Regions from separate parts of the Homo sapiens genome. Here regions 2, 3 and 4 are each linked to region 1. The links are contacts of gene promoters, found by promoter capture Hi-C in blood cells and fetal thymus (Javierre and others, 2016). All regions are on one chromosome and are shown on one strand. Each heading gives the region's core, a stretch centred on a gene start or on the middle of the fragment in contact. The rest is flanking DNA. Distances are from core to core; before and after follow the strand shown.

What was found. The method cuts DNA at HindIII sites, captures the fragments that hold promoters and counts their contacts. A CHiCAGO score of 5 or more calls a contact.
Region 2: a contact is called between a fragment that was not itself captured here and the fragment with the promoter of ATRX in region 1, in 6 of 17 cell types (naive CD8 T cells, naive CD4 T cells, total B cells and 3 more). The highest score is 6.5, in naive CD8 T cells.
Region 3: a fragment that was not itself captured here is called in contact with the fragment with the promoter of ATRX in region 1 in 1 of 17 cell types (monocytes); the score reaches 5.2 in monocytes.
Region 4: a contact is called between a fragment that was not itself captured here and the fragment with the promoter of ATRX in region 1, in 3 of 17 cell types (total B cells, neutrophils and naive CD8 T cells). The highest score is 7.7, in total B cells.

What each region holds. Positions count from the first base shown.
Region 1 is chrX:77,783,755-77,788,461 of GRCh38, forward strand. It overlaps ATRX (ATRX chromatin remodeler), which reads right to left and starts at 2,462. Exons shown (of 35, transcript NM_000489.6): 1 at 2,228-2,462. The coding sequence starts at 2,247. RefSeq lists a silencer at 2,076-2,125 and enhancers at 2,226-2,335, 2,346-2,535. The HindIII fragment of the contact is 7,766 bases long and covers 1-3,274 here.
Region 2 is chrX:78,026,645-78,031,351 of GRCh38, forward strand. It overlaps ATP7A (ATPase copper transporting alpha), which reads left to right. Exons shown (of 23, transcript NM_000052.7): 15 at 2,606-2,800. Among named protein-coding and RNA genes, the nearest start is that of PGAM4, 59 kb to the left of the region's middle. The HindIII fragment of the contact is 7,213 bases long and covers 1-4,707 here.
Region 3 is chrX:77,545,383-77,550,089 of GRCh38, forward strand. All of the region lies in intron 30 of ATRX (ATRX chromatin remodeler), which reads right to left. Among named protein-coding and RNA genes, the nearest start is that of FGF16, 100 kb to the left of the region's middle. The HindIII fragment of the contact is 774 bases long and covers 1,707-2,480 here.
Region 4 is chrX:78,009,473-78,012,997 of GRCh38, forward strand. ATP7A (ATPase copper transporting alpha) reads left to right here. Exons shown (of 23, transcript NM_000052.7): 8 at 1,704-1,780; 9 at 1,977-2,202; 10 at 3,407-3,525. Among named protein-coding and RNA genes, the nearest start is that of PGAM4, 42 kb to the left of the region's middle. The HindIII fragment of the contact is 1,116 bases long and covers 1,718-2,833 here.

The DNA of each region.
Region 1 (4,707 bases), core at 1,212-3,711:
AGATCGATGACACTTCAGCCTGAGACAGTTCTGAACACCTACTTGGAGCTCTTTCATAGTAAATCATCAGGGAGTGTCACACTTTTTAATTAATTCCCTACATGCATATATGCAGTTCTTTACTAGAGGTTTTTCATGTAGCTTAAGACTCTCCTAGCATTAAATATTTCAGTTATCTCACTACATAGTACACCTGGACACAAAAAATGTAACATTATAAACAGCTACAAAATCATAGACCTGCAACAAATCAGAGTAGGTAATATGAACTTCTTTCATTGTAACACTTGGGCTAAATTTAAATGGTCATAATCAGGTTAGACCTGGCAGCTGAAGGGGGCATTAATGCCTTGTGGTTAAGAACATAAGCTGTGAAGTCAAGATGGGGTTCAATTCCAGCTCCACCAATTACAAGCTGTATAACTTCGGTCAAGTTCTTGATCTATGTCTCACTTTCCTCCTCATCGGTAAAATGGGCAAAACCAAGTACTTACCTCACAGGTTTGAGAATTCATCAAGATTATAAAGAACGACAATAAGCACTCAACTTAGTTATGATTATTACTCTTATCATCAAGATCTACAAAAATCCAAGACTAGTAAGAAAAACTGACCCTTGTGTAAAATTAATTATTCTATTCAGAAATTCTATATACGTAATTTGTTCATTCTAAAGAAACTGAGAAGATCCGACTTCAAACTATAGTTTCAAATGTAGACTTTGTGAAACTTAGTAAAATCTAGAGGTCATAATTTAACTGTAAGGTACACCATCCATGCATATGAACATGAGTGCCTGGTAATTACAGGCCAACAAGTTATACTGGGTACCACTTACGTGCCTAATACCCCACAGATAAAGATTTGTTGTATTTGAGCCTACTGACAAATTCAGAAACCAAGGCCACAATCGTGTACACAACTAGAGATCTACAATCTAAGAACTGAAGCATATCTTTCCCCAAGGTAAAGAAAATATAATCTACTGCTTGTTCATGCAGAAATACAGACATACGTATCATAGGCTCATTGCCCAATTCTACATTCTAGCTAAATTGCTCTAAAAACATATGCCAATCTAAGAGTTACTCAAAGGCACATTTCGCCAACTTGAAATGCAATTCTGACCCATGCTCCTTGTAATTTTATTTTGCCACTGGACGCCAAGGATGCATCTCCGAGTAAAAAAATTACTTAATTCACATTGTGGGATGAAAATTCAAATGTCAAACTGAAACGCCAGCCAGCCACCTGGGTAAAAGTGTATACATTTCATATTGACTACCCAAATTTTCAGACCCGTCAAGAGGCAAATCAGAAGCACACAGAAAAACAGCTTCAACCTAATAAACGTGCTTGATTGGTTAAGAGGAGGCCTGCCAGGCATTTTCCCTTGCAATAAATCTTACTTCGCATCAGCCCACGTTAACCTGCCCTTCATCCTTCATGGAATAAATAAGTAAATAAAGATAGGGCCTAATTACTCCTCGAAATTTGCCCAGAAAGTGGGGAAACACTTGAGGTCCCATTAAGGCTGGACATCACAAAAAGTAGTATACTAGGGTCCTCTGGAAGCAAAACCCTGTGTTAAGTCCCCCCTCGCCTAGAAATAAACCCAAGGATATCCTTCAGGATATGGAGTAGAAAAGATACCTAAATACCTGGAACTGCACCACAACCCAATCAAAAAAAGGCTTGTCTCCTGGGGCTGCAGAAAAAAAATCCCGCAGGGCCCGGGTGCTTCCCATCTCCAGCAACCTAAACGCCTCTAAGTCGTCCTGGGATCTCACATCCTCGCGCCCGCCCACCCCTCCCCCTCTTCTCACCCTCCCCCCGCTTCTTCCCCACGCAGTTTCTAGGCCCAAAGATTAGCAAAAATGACCGGGATACCAAAGACCGCCTCCGACTTCGAGGTCTCAATCCCACAGGCACCAAAGAATAAACAGAGGAGCCCGACCAAGCGTCACCGTTTAGGGGAGATTGCAAGAAGCGCCCCATACCCTAGGCCGCGCCCCCCCCACCTCCCCCCACCCCATCCCCACCCCCACCCCCGTCGGAGCCTTGCGCCGATACCCCGAAACCCTTCTCACCTAAAGAGAAAACGATGCCTCTTTCGGCTAAGCAACACACAGGCCTAACCCACCAAGCGAACGCCTTCCCAAACACCCGACTCAGACGGTGCCTGGGCCCAGACCGCTGGGGCCCATGAGACGGGGTTGCGTTTTACCTCATGGGCTCAGCGGTCATGTTTTCGCTTGAACGCCTTGTCGGCTTCTGTGATTGCTGGGCGCCGATCTGCGCTCCCCCGCGCCCGGTTACGATAGAAATGCACTGGAGTCTTAGTCGTCACTGTAGCTGCTGCTGGAACCTCCCCACAGCTCAAAGGCCGCTACCACTGCCACCGCCGCAGGAGCCGCGGAAACAAAGCGACACCGCTGCCGCCGCCATTTTGTTGGGCCGAGGCTCAGGCAGGAGAATTGGCGCGTCCTCCCTCTTTCTCTTTCCGTCAGCCATTGGCTACCTCCTCCAAAGCACAGAGTCTTATTGGCTACGGAAATTCACCTTCTTTGGGGGCCTGTTGCTAAGGCGGTCGACGTCATTTGATCCCCTCCACCTTTTCGCAGGGGGTCCAATTTAGTCCCAATTGACCTGAAAGTGCTAGTGACATAGTTTGACTTTATTTTGAAAATGCTCTTTTGGTCCAACCTCTTTTTTCTTTGACATATTAACGAAGTAATAACAGCAACCTACATTTATTGAGAGTTTACTATATGCTCGGCACTACACTAATCCTTTATCCGGGTTATCTCATTTAATCTTTACACTCTCTGAGGTAGACAAACCTACATTTTCCAGATGAGGAAACCAAGACACAAAGTCCCACAGTAGTGGAGCCGAGATTCACCAGACACTCTTAACCACTAATCTGTATGGCCATCCTATGTAAGTATTTTCTTTCCTATATGCTAGGCTATCATCAAGTTATTTGCTTTCCTAGATGTTTTATACATAATATTTGGCACACCAACATGCTTGGAAATGTATATGTGTATAATATACTTATATATATGTATATGTGTGCAGACGACATAAGACCAACTTGAACGCTGCATAAAATTCTTTCCATATTGAATAAAGTGTCTCTTAGAATACACACACACACACACACACACACACACACACACACACACACACGGGCCATTTCCCCAATTTGATGTGATGTTTAGCTCACAAACCAATCAATTTAGATCTGCTTCCTTCTCATTACAGAGGAAGCTTGGCTGGATGATCTGTAAATGCCTTTCCCGCTTTTATGATCTATAATTTGATTTTACATTGGTAATCTCTGCTAATCACAAACAAGTCCTCTAAAATCTAATCGCTTCGAAATTTATTTCCAAATTTATTCTGCCATGCATGCTTTAGTTCATTCTATTTATTTTTCTTGAAATATGCAAGAGCTCCTGTCGGGGTTAGGTGACAGGGTTGCTGCTTTCTACTGGGATAGCAAGAGGGGAGCCTTTTTTGAATGAAACACTTTGAAAATCTGATAGGCTCAGGCAACTTTTTTTTTTTTTTTTTCTGAGACAGGGTCTAGCTCTGTCACCCAGGCTGGAGTGCAGTGGCGTGACGCAGTTCACTGCAGCCTCGACCTCCTAGGCTCAAGCAATCCTCCCACCTCAGCCTCTCAAGCAGCTGGGACTGCAGGCGCGTGCCATCAAGCCCAGCTAATTATGTATTTATGTATTGGTATAGATGAGGTAGGTCTGTCTGTTGCCCAGGCTGGTCTCAAACATCTAAGCTCAAGCCATCCTCCAACCTCGACCTCCCAAAGTGCTGGAGTTACAGGGGTGAGCCACCGCGCCTGGCCTCAGGCAACTTTTTAATCAACAGACGCCTGTACACATTGCAATTATATCTTTCAAATGTTTGAGTTCAGTTGGCAATTATAGAAACCAGACCTCTGTACCTGCTATACTGATTTTGTCTTGTACACATTAAATATCATTTCAACATACAATTTACAGGAGTCATTTTTTTCTCCTTGGTAAATGCAGTGAATTTGAATGATGTACTCCATCACAAGGCAGCACAGAAATGTGCTTGCTGTTCAACTGACTTCACTATGAGAAAAATAGTAAATAGTCAACATGTTACCAGGTTATTGGCGTTTCGAACAAGGAATTGGACAAAATGCACAAAGCAAGGAAAGAATGAAGCAACAAAAGCAGAGACACGTTGAAAATGAAAGTACACTCCACAAGACTGCAGGAGCTGCCAGAGCACAGGGGCTCAAGACCCCCATTACAGAATTTTCTGGGATTTAAATACTCTCTAGAGGTTTTCCATTGGTTACTTGGTGTACACCCTATGTAAATAAAGTAGTGGCCCGCAATCAGAGGCTAAAGTGAAGTTACAAGGGTCACACCCTATGCAAGCATCTAATTGGTTGTGGACAGCAACCAATCAGAGGCTAAAGTGAAGTTACAAAGTTACACTGCTATACAAACATCTGCTTTCTGCAACCAATCAGAGATACTTTCAGTTTTCCATCTGCCAAGCGGAAAAGGAAGAGGATTTGCAAAGGGAGTAGTCTTTTTGTTACTTAGGTGTGGAAAGTTGGGGTTTTCCTTTTGATTCAGTTCTAGGAAGTCAACTTTACTCAGCCTTAGGTTCCCTGCCTCCAAACCCTATTCTCCTGCCTCA
Region 2 (4,707 bases), core at 1,552-4,051, 240 kb after region 1:
ATGAACATGGTACATTCCCTAACATTGATCATCGGCTTGATCATAAAGCAAGTCTCAATAAATTAAAAAACAACTAGATCAGATCAAGCGTCTTCCTAGACTCCAGTGGAATAAAATTAGAAATCAATACCAAGAGGAACTCTAAAAGCCACACAAGTACAGGGAGACTAAACAACCAACTCCTGAATAACTTTTGGGTAAACAATGAAGTTAATGCATTTCGGCCGGGCGCGGTGGCTCATGCCTGTAATCCCAGCACTTTGGGAGGCCGAGGCGGGTGGATCCCCTGAGGTTGGGAGTTCAAGACCAGCCTGGCCAACATGGTGAAACCCTATCTCTACTAAAAAATACAAAAATTAGCCAGGCATGGTGGCACGCACCTGTAATCCCAGCTACTTGCGAGACTGAGGGAAGAGAATTGCTCGAACCCAGGAGGTGTAGGTTTCACTGAGCCTAGATCACGCCATTGAACTGCCGCCTGGGCAACAAGAACAAAACTCCGTCTCAAAAAAAAAAAAAAAATCTCTGTTCCTGATGACATGATTCTATACCTAGAAAACCATAAAGATTTCTCCAAAAGACTCCCAGACCAGATAAACTACTTCAGTAAAGTTTCAGGGTATAAAATCAACATGCAAAAATTATTAGCATTTCTATACACCAGCAACGTCCAACTCGAGAACTAAATCAAGAACTCAATCCCATTTACAATAATCACACACAAAACATACCTAGGAATACATTTAACCAAGGAGGTGAAAGATCTCTACAGAGAGAAGCATAAAACACTGATGAAAGAAACTGAAGAAGACACAAACAAATGGAAAAACATTCCATGCCCATGGATTGGAAGCATTAATATTAAAACTACCATACTGTCCAAAGCAATCTATAGATTCAACACAATTCCTATAAAACTAATGTCCTCTGTCACAGAATTAAAAAAGCAATCCTAAAATTCATATGGAAAAAGAACCTAAATAGCCAAAGCCATCCTAAGCAAAAAGAATAAAACTAGAGGCATCACATTACCTGACTTCAAATTATACTGCAAGGCTATAGTAATCAAAAGCATGGTATTGATACAAAAATAGACATGTAGATCAATTGAACAAAATAGAGAACCCAGAAATAAAACCACACACCTACAACCAACTGATCTTCAACAAAGTTGACCAAAACAAGCAATGGGGAAAGGACACCCTATTCAATATATGATATTATTATATGGGATTACAGACATGAGCCACTGTGTCCAGCCCACTACTGTAATATTAAAAAGTTTCTTTAAGTGATTCATGTCTGTTTAGTACACACTGAACAAAAGGATTGTTGGGAAGTTTTTTTGGTATTTATTTATTTATTTATTTATTTATTTATTTATTTATTTATTTTTGAGACAGGGTCTCGCTCTGTTGCCCAGGCAGGAATGCAGTGGTGCAATCATGGCTCACTGCAGCCTCAAACTTCTGGGCTTAAGCGATTCTCTTACCTTAGCCTCCCGAGTAGCTGCAACTGCAGGCATGCACCACCATCCCTGGCTAATTTTTTTTTTTTTTTTGAGACCGAGTTTCGCTCTTGTCACCCAGGCTGGAGTGCAATGGCATGATCTCGGCTCACTGCAACCTCTGCCTTCCAGGTTCAAGCAATTCTTGTGCCTCAGCCTCCCAAGTAGCTGGGATTACAGGCATGTGCCACCATGCCCAGCTAATTTTTGCATTTTTAATAGAGACGGGGTTTCACCATGTTGGCCAGGCAGGTCTCGGACTCCTGACCTCAGGTGATCCACCTGCCTTGGCCTCCCAAAGTGCTGGGATTACAGGCGTGAGCCACTGTGCCCGGCCATACCTGGCTAATTTTTCACAAATTTTTTTTGTAGAGATGAGGTCTTACCATGTTGCCCAGGGTGGTCTCAAACTCCTGGCCTCAAATGATCCTCCTGCCTTAGCCTCCAAAAGTACTGGGATTACAGATGTGAGCCCGTGCACAGACCAGCAAGTAGCTTGGAATGTGTTTCCTTCAGGAATTTTTCTCATGAGTTCAGGATGTCTTAGATTTCTTCTAAAACTACCAATTATATTTTTCCCACATGAGCAAACACTGAACGTCACTAAGAGCTTAATTAGCAGATATACTTGGTTCACATTGTTATGTCCAAAAGGATTTTGTTGAAATATGACTAAGGTCCCTTTGCATGCCATGTGATTCTTTTTCATTGTCTTTCAAGAATAGTGTGAAAGGCAGAATTATGGTTTTACTCTACAGAGATTGAGAATTCTGTTTATTCAGTATCAAATTTTTTGAAAATTATGTCTCACATTTGCAGCTATTTCTGAAAATTTCTAATAAAAACATTCATTCTCAATATGGAGCACTTATATTCAGTCCATAGTTTGTAATTCTGGAATCTCAGTATGTCCCAATTTCTTATATTCATAAAAGAAAGAAAGTGTTTTCTTACCTGTAACTAAAAAATATATGTAGGTAGCTAGGTAGGATATGTCACTTTTTAAATTGTGGTTTTATTTAAATAGTGTTAAGTTTTGTGTCTTTTGTTTTGTACAGCTCTAAATCAATAACCAAAATTTATGCCTTTCTTCTAAAGGGCTACAATAGAAGTATCTCCCGAACAGAAACGATAATACGATTTGCTTTCCAAGCCTCTATCACAGTTCTGTGTATTGCATGTCCCTGTTCACTGGGACTGGCCACTCCAACTGCTGTGATGGTGGGTACAGGAGTAGGTGCTCAAAATGGCATACTAATAAAAGGTGGAGAGCCATTGGAGATGGCTCATAAGGTAAGACAGTCCCCAGAACTAAAACCTGTACCACCAAACTATCAATAGCACCCCTCACATGTGAGAAACACATACTCCTAAATTATTTCTCTGTGGTCCATGAGCTGAGCTGCTTCTAGGACTATCCAGAGATTTGAGGTAGGAAAGGTGTTATTTTGGTTCTGCTTCAGATTGGCCTTTGTTACCTAAGATTCCTAAAACTACTCCAGGCCTATTTATTAGAGCAGACCCTAATGTGGAAAACCTGGACTCCTATCCTAGCTCAGACTAGACTAGTCTTTGTGGCAGAAAGACAGAATAGGTGTTTGCCCAGGAAAATTTGCCAAACTCCAGCAGCCTTCTAACCTATTTGTGTGTGACTTGTTTTCTTCACTGGGACCTTCAATTGCAGTGCCGTTTCTTTGCCTTTGCTGCCACCAGCCGACAGTTTGCAGCTATGACTTTAGGAATATAATCCTATCTCTGATCTCATATTAGGATTTCCATAATCATCTCAAAGCTACTTGACTTCAACTAAAACCATGTTTCTACTAGTATGTTCTTATTATGAGGATGTAAGCTATGTACAGAGGTATATAGTAAACATAGAACATATCTTAGAACAAATCTGGAAACTCACCTCGCCAGAGAATACAGGCTAGTAATTTTTATAGACATTTTAAACTTTGATATAATTTCAAACTTAAAAGTCGCAAGACTAGCCTGGCACAGTGGCTCACGCCTGTAATCCCAGCACTTTGGGAGGCTGAGGCAGGCGGACCACGAGGTCAGGAGTTTGAGACCAGCCTGACCAACATGGTGAAACCCCGTCTCTACTAAAAATACAAAAATTAGCTGGGCGAGTTGGCACACCTGTAATCCCAACTACTCAGGAGACTGAGGCAGGAGAATCGCTTGAGCCCGGAGGGCAGGGGTTGCAGTGAGCTGGGATCGCGCCACTGCACTCCAGCTTGGGCGACTGAGCAAGACTCCATCTCAAAAAAAAAAAAAAATGTTGCAAGACTAGTACAAAGAACTCCTATATGCCCTTTACTGCAGTCGTTGGGCTCTTTTCCTAAGAATAAGGACATTCTCTTATGTAAACTGTAGTACAACTATCAAAATCAATAAATTAATATTGATATGTTGTTATCTGATCTGTAGTCCATGTTCCAGTTTCCTCAGTTGTCTCAATAATGTGCTTTATAGCTATTTTTCCCCTGTCCAGAATCATACTTTGTTGGTTTATTTTTCTTTTCTTTCTTTCTTTCTTTTTTTTTTTTTTTGAGATGAAGTCTCGCTCTATGGCCCAGGCTGGAGTGCAGTGGTGCGATCTCGGCTCACTGCAACCTCCACCCACCAAGTTCCAGCGATTCTCCTGCCTCAGCCTCCCGAGTAGCTGGGATTACAGGCATGCACCACCATGCCCAGCTAACTTTTTATTATTAGTAGAGACGGGGTTTCACCATGTTGGCCAGGCTGGTCTCGATCTCCTGACCTCAGGTGATCCATACACCTCAGTCTCTGAAAGTGCTGGGATTATAGGCTTGAGCCACCGCACCTGGCCATTTACCTTTATTCTTATAATCATTTCCCTACTGCTTAGATTTCCTCATCAGATCTATAATTCATTATATTGAAAGCCTTTCTTTTTTACCTTGAGGCACTAGAGGCGTCTCTTAATTACCTATTAACAGTCAACCCTTAAAAATTAGCTCTAGTTGTTTAACATATATTCACAGTTATTTAGCATGAACAAACAGTTCAGCATTGGCAGAGGAGAGCTGTTGTGTATAACTAAGAGTATTTCTTCTTTTATTTTCCCGAAGACCATCAGTTTTTTAAGTCAAATTAAGTCAAAGGTCAGTTTACTAAGAAACTAAATAGTCATCTCTTTGTCAAAACAGACCTTTTTCTTATTTCTGGAA
Region 3 (4,707 bases), core at 844-3,343, 240 kb before region 1:
ACACAGACATCCCTGGGGTAACAACTGGCATCATATTTTATCTAAAACATAGTTACTGAAACAGATGAAATAAAGGAAGATATTACCAATATGGAATTCAAACAAATTTAAGAGTCTAAATGAAATATTAGGAAAAAAAAATAACAGTTGAAAAAATAACTCAGTATAAACAGCAAGCGGGGTACAGTTGAATATCTTAGTGAATTAGGAGATAAGACTGAGATACTCTTCCAGAAGATAGTAAGAAAGAATAAAGAAATAGGAATGCAAAAGAAAAGCTAAAAGATATGGAGGCTAGAAGAGCAGGCATTCAGATAGTAACAGTCTCAGAAAGAGACAAAAATAAAAATGCAAAGGATGATATTTTTGAAGAACTAATGGACATACATTTCTCAGAAGTATAATGAAAAAACTGAGGCATAGAAGTCAGATATTTTGACTAAGATAAAGATTCAAACCCTGGTCTTGCCCCAGGACCCCTGTCCTTAACCACTCTGCTACACTGACTTAGGGCTAAGGATCAGTAAGTTCAGCACCAAAGACAATCAAGGAGGACTAGGATCAGCTCTGACACTGTAAGATTGTGTAGTAACTAGATGAAATCCATACCCTCCCCAATATTATACACCTTGATAACACTGTGCCTTTCCATAAACCCACAGTATTGATTAAAACGGTGTAAAGTCATATCAAACCTCAATTTACTTCTCCGCAAGCTTAATCATATAGAATATTAATGTCAGGATAGTATAGTGTAATGGTTAAAGAGTGTGGAGTCTGGAGTCACAGCACTGAGTTCAAGCCCCGGTGCCACCACTTTCCATGCCATAATTTCATCAGAAAATAGAAAAAATTGTACCTGCTTTGTAAGGATTAAATAAGGTAATGCTAGTAAAATCCTTAGCACAGTTCCTGGCATAAACATTGCTCAATAAAGCTTAGATACTGTTTGTTTTTTTAATTCAAAGGTTTAGCTGATAACTATTGTAAAGGCAAATTATACTACTACATACCTTGTACACACAAGAGTGGTAGACCTTGTCAAAAATAGATTCCCAAGGCCTACCTCCAGAAATTCTGATTCAGTAGGTCTTAGATGAAGCCAGGAATCTGCATTTTTTTTTTTTTGAGACAGGGTCTCACTCTGTCACCCAGGCTGGAGTGTAGTGGTACAAACTTGCTCACTGCAGCCTCGACCTCCTAGGTTCAAGGGATCCTCCCAACTCAGTCTCCAAAACAGCTGAGACTACAGGTGCATGCCACCAAGCCTGGCTAATTTTTTGTAGAGACAGAGTCTTGCCACGTTGACCAGGCTGATCCTGAACTCCTGGATTCAAGCAATCCTCCCACCTTGGCCTCCCAAAGTGCTGAGATTAGAGGTGTGTGCCACTGTGTCCGACTAGGAATCTGCATTTTTAATCAAGCCACCAGGTGATTCTCCAAGAAGTACACACAAGGAAAAACACTATTTCAAAGGCATGTCAACTATTGCCTCACAACATTTAGCTTGCAATTTTAGCACAAAAATTCATTTGTTCACATAGCACATTTTTATTGAATACTTGCTATGTGCTATATTATGTATTATGCCAGGTATTGGGGATAGAGTGATGAAGATGCATTAATATAGTTCTTGCCTTCCTAGGCTAATAGGAAGTTCATATTCTAGAGAGAATAGATATTTTAATTTGCCTATAAAGTAAAAAAGCTTACCATTTAATTCATTTATTAAATGAGCATTTATTAAATGCAAACCTGGTATTTTAAATTTCAGGATTTCTATGACCTTAAGCAGCAAATATTTCTAGTACTTCCAACTCTCCATAAGGAGACACTTTTTAAAGTCTATCCTAAACTCTCCCCAATAGAATCTTGCATACCATCCCCAACTCTGCCCTCCACCCCAACACTGCCAGCAAGGCTGCCTTATCTACATTGATGTTTCCATGGACAATTATTTATAAGACAGCTTGCCAGCGTTAGGGAGGCTGCCATCTCAGGGTATCATTGGCTCCATGGTTTCTGTAACCCAAATGTTTTCCCTAAAAGACTTGGTAAATGGCTCCTTAATAGTTTTTCTTGTGTCATAAGGTGGTACAATAAAAAATAAGACAAAACAGCACTATAAATAAAGTATGGTCAGTCTGTTAACAAGTATTTATTGTGTAGTTTGTGGAGGGAAAATAGAAGCATCTCTTTACTTTGGAAAATTACTACAGAAGCATCAGCTGGCTATAAGGTAGACTTTATTCTAAAGTTGCTTATATTATTTAAGAAAAAAAACCCCTTTCAATGTTCTTTGTCAACTGCATGCTAACTTTATTGAAAGTGAAGATCAATATCTAATATATTCCTTCCTGATTACAACTGATCTCTGGGGGAATGCAAGCCTCAAATACCTATGTCTTCTGCAGCTTAGCTGAGATGATCTCCTCTGGCTCCTAAATGTTTTTAGTTTTCTACTGGTCTGTCATATATCAAGCTTAATTTTCTACTCAGGATCAGGACCTCACATGACTCCTCTGAAATTCCAAAAATGTAAGTCCATAAGTATTTCAGAGAAATGAACCTACTATAATGGTAATATTAATAACAATTATGGAAACAAAAACAGCAGCTAACATTTGAACACTTACTATGTGCTAGGTAGTATGTTTACATGAATTACCTCCTTTGTGAGAGAAGTACTGGCACTATTCTTATTTTCTTCAGAAAAATGAGGCTTAGAAAGCTTACATGGTTTGCCTAAGATTACATCTGAAAAGGGTGGTTGGCAAGTTATTTAGGAGAGGGCTTAAACAAGCTGCTCTTTTTACTTGGCATCAATCACCCCAACAAAAAACGAATAGGACACTTTTGTAATCTGCAAAGAAATGGTAGAATTCAAACAATTTTTCTGATGCCCGTTATTTTTTCTGGTGGTCTATTCATATACAGATGAATAACAATCATTTTATACTAGTAAATACAAAGATAGGAATAATATTCAAACTTGTTTTATTAAACAAAAAAATCCAAAACCTGTGATTAAAAAAAAGGCAAAGAAGTAGGAGACAATGACATCAAACCTTATATATGCTTCAATTATGAGCATGGCTTCCTAGAAGAATATGACAACAAATATTAGGTTCACATACCACCATGTGGTTCATACCCCATAGGCTACTAACACTTGCTCTACAATTAAATGTGTTATTTTGAACCTTTATTCTCAAAAGTAAATGTAGGCAGGTTACCAGAAAGTTCCTGAAATAAGTGGATTAGCTATTTCATACTTTACATCAAATTATTTTAATGGAATGTATTTCACACTGGTATTAAGAATGACTAAGGTGAAACCTTATATTACCATCTGCCGGCTAATAAAACTGTACAATAACATCTCTGTTCAGTAAATTATGCTTTGAAGTATTAAAGTTTGAATACAGGACTAAAGAAAGGGGAGAACACTGCACACAAATTCAGCGTAGAGAAAACAAACCTAAAGCCTCACTTAAGATACTTTAATTTAAATCCCCATTTTGTTCTCCCTGTAATCATCAAGTAGTTCACATTTAAAAAGACATACGTAGTCCAGTGCTGGAAAAGGGAAGTATAAAAACATTTCTATGCCAGTTTTATTGGCTTTTGTTTTCTTAATAAAAGGTACAGAGTAGGCTGTGTATACTGTACTTAAGAGGAACAAAACACCCACTTAAGCATATTATAAAATATAACCTTGGCTGCAGGTGGTGACTCATGCCTGTAATCCCAGCACTTTAGGAGACCGAGGTGGGTCGATCACTTGAGGCCAGGAGTTCGAGACCAGCCTGGCCAACATGGAGAAAGCCCATCTCTATGAAAAATACAAAAATTAGCCAGGCGTGGTGGCGCATGCCTGTAATCCCAGCTACTCAGGTGGCTGAGGCACGAGAATCACTTGAACCCCAGAGGCGGAGGTTGCAGTGAACTGAGATTGCAGCACTGCACTCCATCCTGGGTGACAGAGTGAGACTGTCTCAAAATAAAATAAAACATGACCTTGACCAAAATTTTCATCTCTGATATCTGTATAATTAATAAGTTTATTACCAGAAAAGGTACTTTCTCTAACATAATTTACATAAATGTTAACAGGTTAGCTATCAATTTAACATTTACATAAACGTTAACAGAGGTTAGCTATTAATTTAACATTTTAAACACAAGCCATTAAGAATAAGTTAACAAATCGGTATTGCTAGAAACTTGTGTTAAACTACTTATAAGTCTAGATCATGCTACAGTTTCAAAATGGCTGAGAAACATTATCCTGAACAACTAAAAAGATGCACAGATACTTGGTAGAGATGATTCAGGAGGCCCTTAAATCAACTTATTAAAAAATAGGTTCACAGGACGTCAAGGCTATTATATTTCCAAAAGGGAAAAGCAGCAACAGTAAGAATCCAATGAGGGGATTTAAAATAATAAAGTGGACAGGCATAGTGGCTCATGCCTGTAATCCTAACACTTTGGGAGGCCAAGGCAGGAGGATCACATGATGCCAGGAGTTCAGGACCAGCCTAGGCAATAGAACGAGACCTTGTCTCAAAAATGAAATGAAATGAAATGAAATGAAATGAAATAAAATAAAATAAAAATAATAAAGTAATGAGTAGAGTGGTGAATGAAGCTAAGATAGCAAATTAAGAATCTAACTGAAGATATAAATTAAAGCTCGAATTC
Region 4 (3,525 bases), core at 1,026-3,525, 230 kb after region 1:
CACTATTAATCAGGAGCAAACAAGTTAGAACCACAAAACACTTAAAATATTTAGAAAATGGAAATAAAGTATAATTTGTTATAAATAAGATTCATATTAGTTACTAAGAAAGTGAAGGATCCTGCTTGATGGCTTTTTGTTTGTTAGGTCAAAACAAAAGACCTATTTTTAAGTTAAAGTAAGAAATTTAAAAGACTAAACCCAGCTGGACATAGTGGCTCATGCCTATAATCTCAGCATTTTGAGAGGCCTAGAGGGCACAATCACTTGAGGCCAGGAGTTCAAGACCATCCTGGGCAATGTAGCGAGACCCTGTCTCTGCAACAAAAATTAAAATAACTAGCCAGGTGTGGTGCCACGCACCCATAGTATTAATCACACGAGAAGCAGAGGTAGGAGGATTGCTTAAGTCCAGGAGTTGAAGGTTACTGTGAGAGAGACCTTGTCTCTAAAACAAACAAACAAACAAACACAATCCTTTCTTTGTGACAGATTCATCCTGTGTTCTTCAATAAGTCTTAAGTGGTAATACATGTGAATGTATTTTAAAAGTTTCAGTATGCTATAGAATTGGTGTTCAAGTGATTTAAAGCATTTTATTAGTTCAGTTAAGATCCTATTTGTATAGATGACATTATCATTACCATTTTTGTGAAACTAGTTTTACTGAGTACCTGCTATGTGCCAGTTACCAAGATTGCAAAGCTTCAACCCTTAATTCCCACAGCAATGTGGTCATATTCATTTTGGAGGTGAGGAAACCCAGGTTAAGAGAAGTTAAGTTACTTATCCAAAGTCACATAGCTAATAACTGTCATAACTGGGATTTGAGCCTAATTACTCTGACTCCAAAAGCTCATGCTTGTTCTATTCACTGTGCACTGCCAACAAATGTAAGATGGCAGCATTTCCCCTAGCAGTTGGAAATGTAATGTGTATTACTATCTATGGTCAGATAAGTCTTGCTTAGGGGTAGTTTCCTTTTTATACTTTGTTTTATTGGGGAAAATGATTTTTGTTCATGTTCTTTTTCTGATAAAACAAGACTAAATACTGCATATGCAAGGCCTTGAATAATATGTTTAGTATGGTGCTAGCTTTTTTTTTTTTTTTTTTTTTTTTTTGGAGACAGAGTCTCACTCTGTCGCCTGGGCTGGAGTGCAGTGGTGCGATCTCAGCTCACTGCAACCTCCGCCTCCTGGGTTCAAGCGATTCTCCTGTCTCAGCTTCCCGAGCAGCTGGGATTACAGGCACCTGCCACTATTTCCAGCTAATTTTTTGTATTTTTAGTAGAGACGGGGTTTCACCGTGTTGGCCATACTGCTCTCGAACTCCTGACTTTGTGATTTGCCCACCTTGGCCTCCCAAAGTGCTGGGATTACAGGCATGAGCCACCGTGCCCGGCCTGGTGCTAGCTTTTATGGCCTATTAATGAGAACCTCTACTGAGGACAGTTGTACTTGAGTTAAACTCTTATATATAGGATACATATTAACTAGCATTAAGGAAATATTTATTTGTTTGATGAAAGATTGGAAACAAATGCAATCAAGAGCAGGAAGCACATCTTCATCTTTGTATTCCCCAGAGTGACTTGCCCTCAGTAATTGAACTGTTCTTAATGACAATACCATGGCTTAGAATTTCTCTATACAATATTTATATGTTCAGTGAAATAATTTTTTTCTCATGAATTTCCTTAGAGCTTAGGTTTTGAAGCTTCTTTGGTCAAGAAGGATCGGTCAGCAAGTCACTTAGATCATAAACGAGAAATAAGACAGTAAGTACTTTGGAGTGTCAGTAAAAAACAGATTTTGACTCCTTATTACAAATTTTTTTTTGCATGTCAGTTTTTATAATATCATCCTTATACTGGATGAAATGGTCACAATGTATATCTCTCTGTAGTATGTAGAATCTTTACCCATTAGCTATTTATGACCATGATTTTTCTTTTTTTATTTTTTCCATATAAGATGGAGACGGTCTTTTCTTGTGAGTCTGTTTTTCTGTATTCCTGTAATGGGGCTGATGATATATATGATGGTTATGGACCACCACTTTGCAACTCTTCACCATAATCAAAACATGAGTAAAGAAGAAATGATCAACCTTCATTCTTCTATGTTCCTGGAGCGCCAGATTCTTCCAGGATTGTCTGTTATGAATTTGCTGTCCTTTTTATTGTGTGTACCTGTACAGGCAAGTGAATTGTTAGCAAATATATTTGTTAATAATAAAAAATAAGCAAAATTTGGCAGGCAAGGTTTATTTTCAGCTACAAAACTGATGTTAGCTAGAAGTCTGATCATTTTATGCCATATGCTTTACAAAAATAATCTTCAACTGGGTAGTTATTTAAGTTGATAATAGATGCCATTTAACCCCTAAGAAAGAGTTCAAGTTTTTTGGGTTTGGTATTTATATCTGCTACTGTATATAACTTTATTTTATTTTTAAATTTTTATTTATCTATTTTTTTTTTTTTAGAGATGGGGTTTTGCTCTGTCACCCAGGCTGGAATGCAGTGGTGTAAGCACAGCTCACTGTGGTCTTGAACTCCTGGGCTCAAGCATTCCTTCTGCCTCAGCATTCTGAGTAGCTGGGACTTCCAGGCACTAGCCACTGCACCCAGCTCAATGACTTTATTTTTGTTATTTCTTCCTGGCACTTCAGTTCATTACTTTCTGTATGTTTTAAACTCTTTTTTCGAGATAAACTTTTACTTTGGAATAGAATACTTCTATCAAATAAATCTTTTCCTTTATCTGATCCTTATAAAAGGCAATAATGATTTTAAAAAACATCTTAGTTTCTCTGTTTTAATGAAATAAGCTTTCCAGTTATATTTACCAACAAAAACGGCCAACAGATTTCGTAGCTTGTGATATACCAGTTAGTTTGAGTTTTGGAAAGATGGGTGAGTTTTATACAAAAAAATCCTTGAGAAAATGTAATTCCTTTCTTAGTTCTTGTTTTTGCTAGCCTCAGAAAGAAAAATCTGCTTGGTGTGATGGCTCATGCCTATAATCCCAGCTACTTGGGAGGCTGAGGCAGGAGGATTGCTTGAGGCCAGGAGTTTGAGACCAGCCTGGGCAACATATCAAGACTGTCTCTTAAAAAAAAAAAAAAAAAAAAGGAAGAAATATCTGATTTTCCTTGTATTATGGAATATCCATTGGATCATAGATGATAGCCCCACAGGCTTGTGCAGCAATTTGAATACCTCCCTCTGCATGTACATCTATTGAAATACAAACACGATTGTTTTGGCTTAATCTCCCTTTAGTGTTTATGGATTAGCTAAAAGCCAAAGAAAGTGACTATTGATACTTTAAGTTATTGAGATATATATGTGAATTTCAGCATTTTTTAAAATTCAATGATTATCATTCCTATATTGCAGTTTTTCGGAGGCTGGTACTTCTACATTCAGGCTTATAAAGCACTGAAGCATAAGACAGCAAATATGGACGTACTGATTGTGCTGGCAACCACCATTGCATTTGCCTACTCTTTGATTAT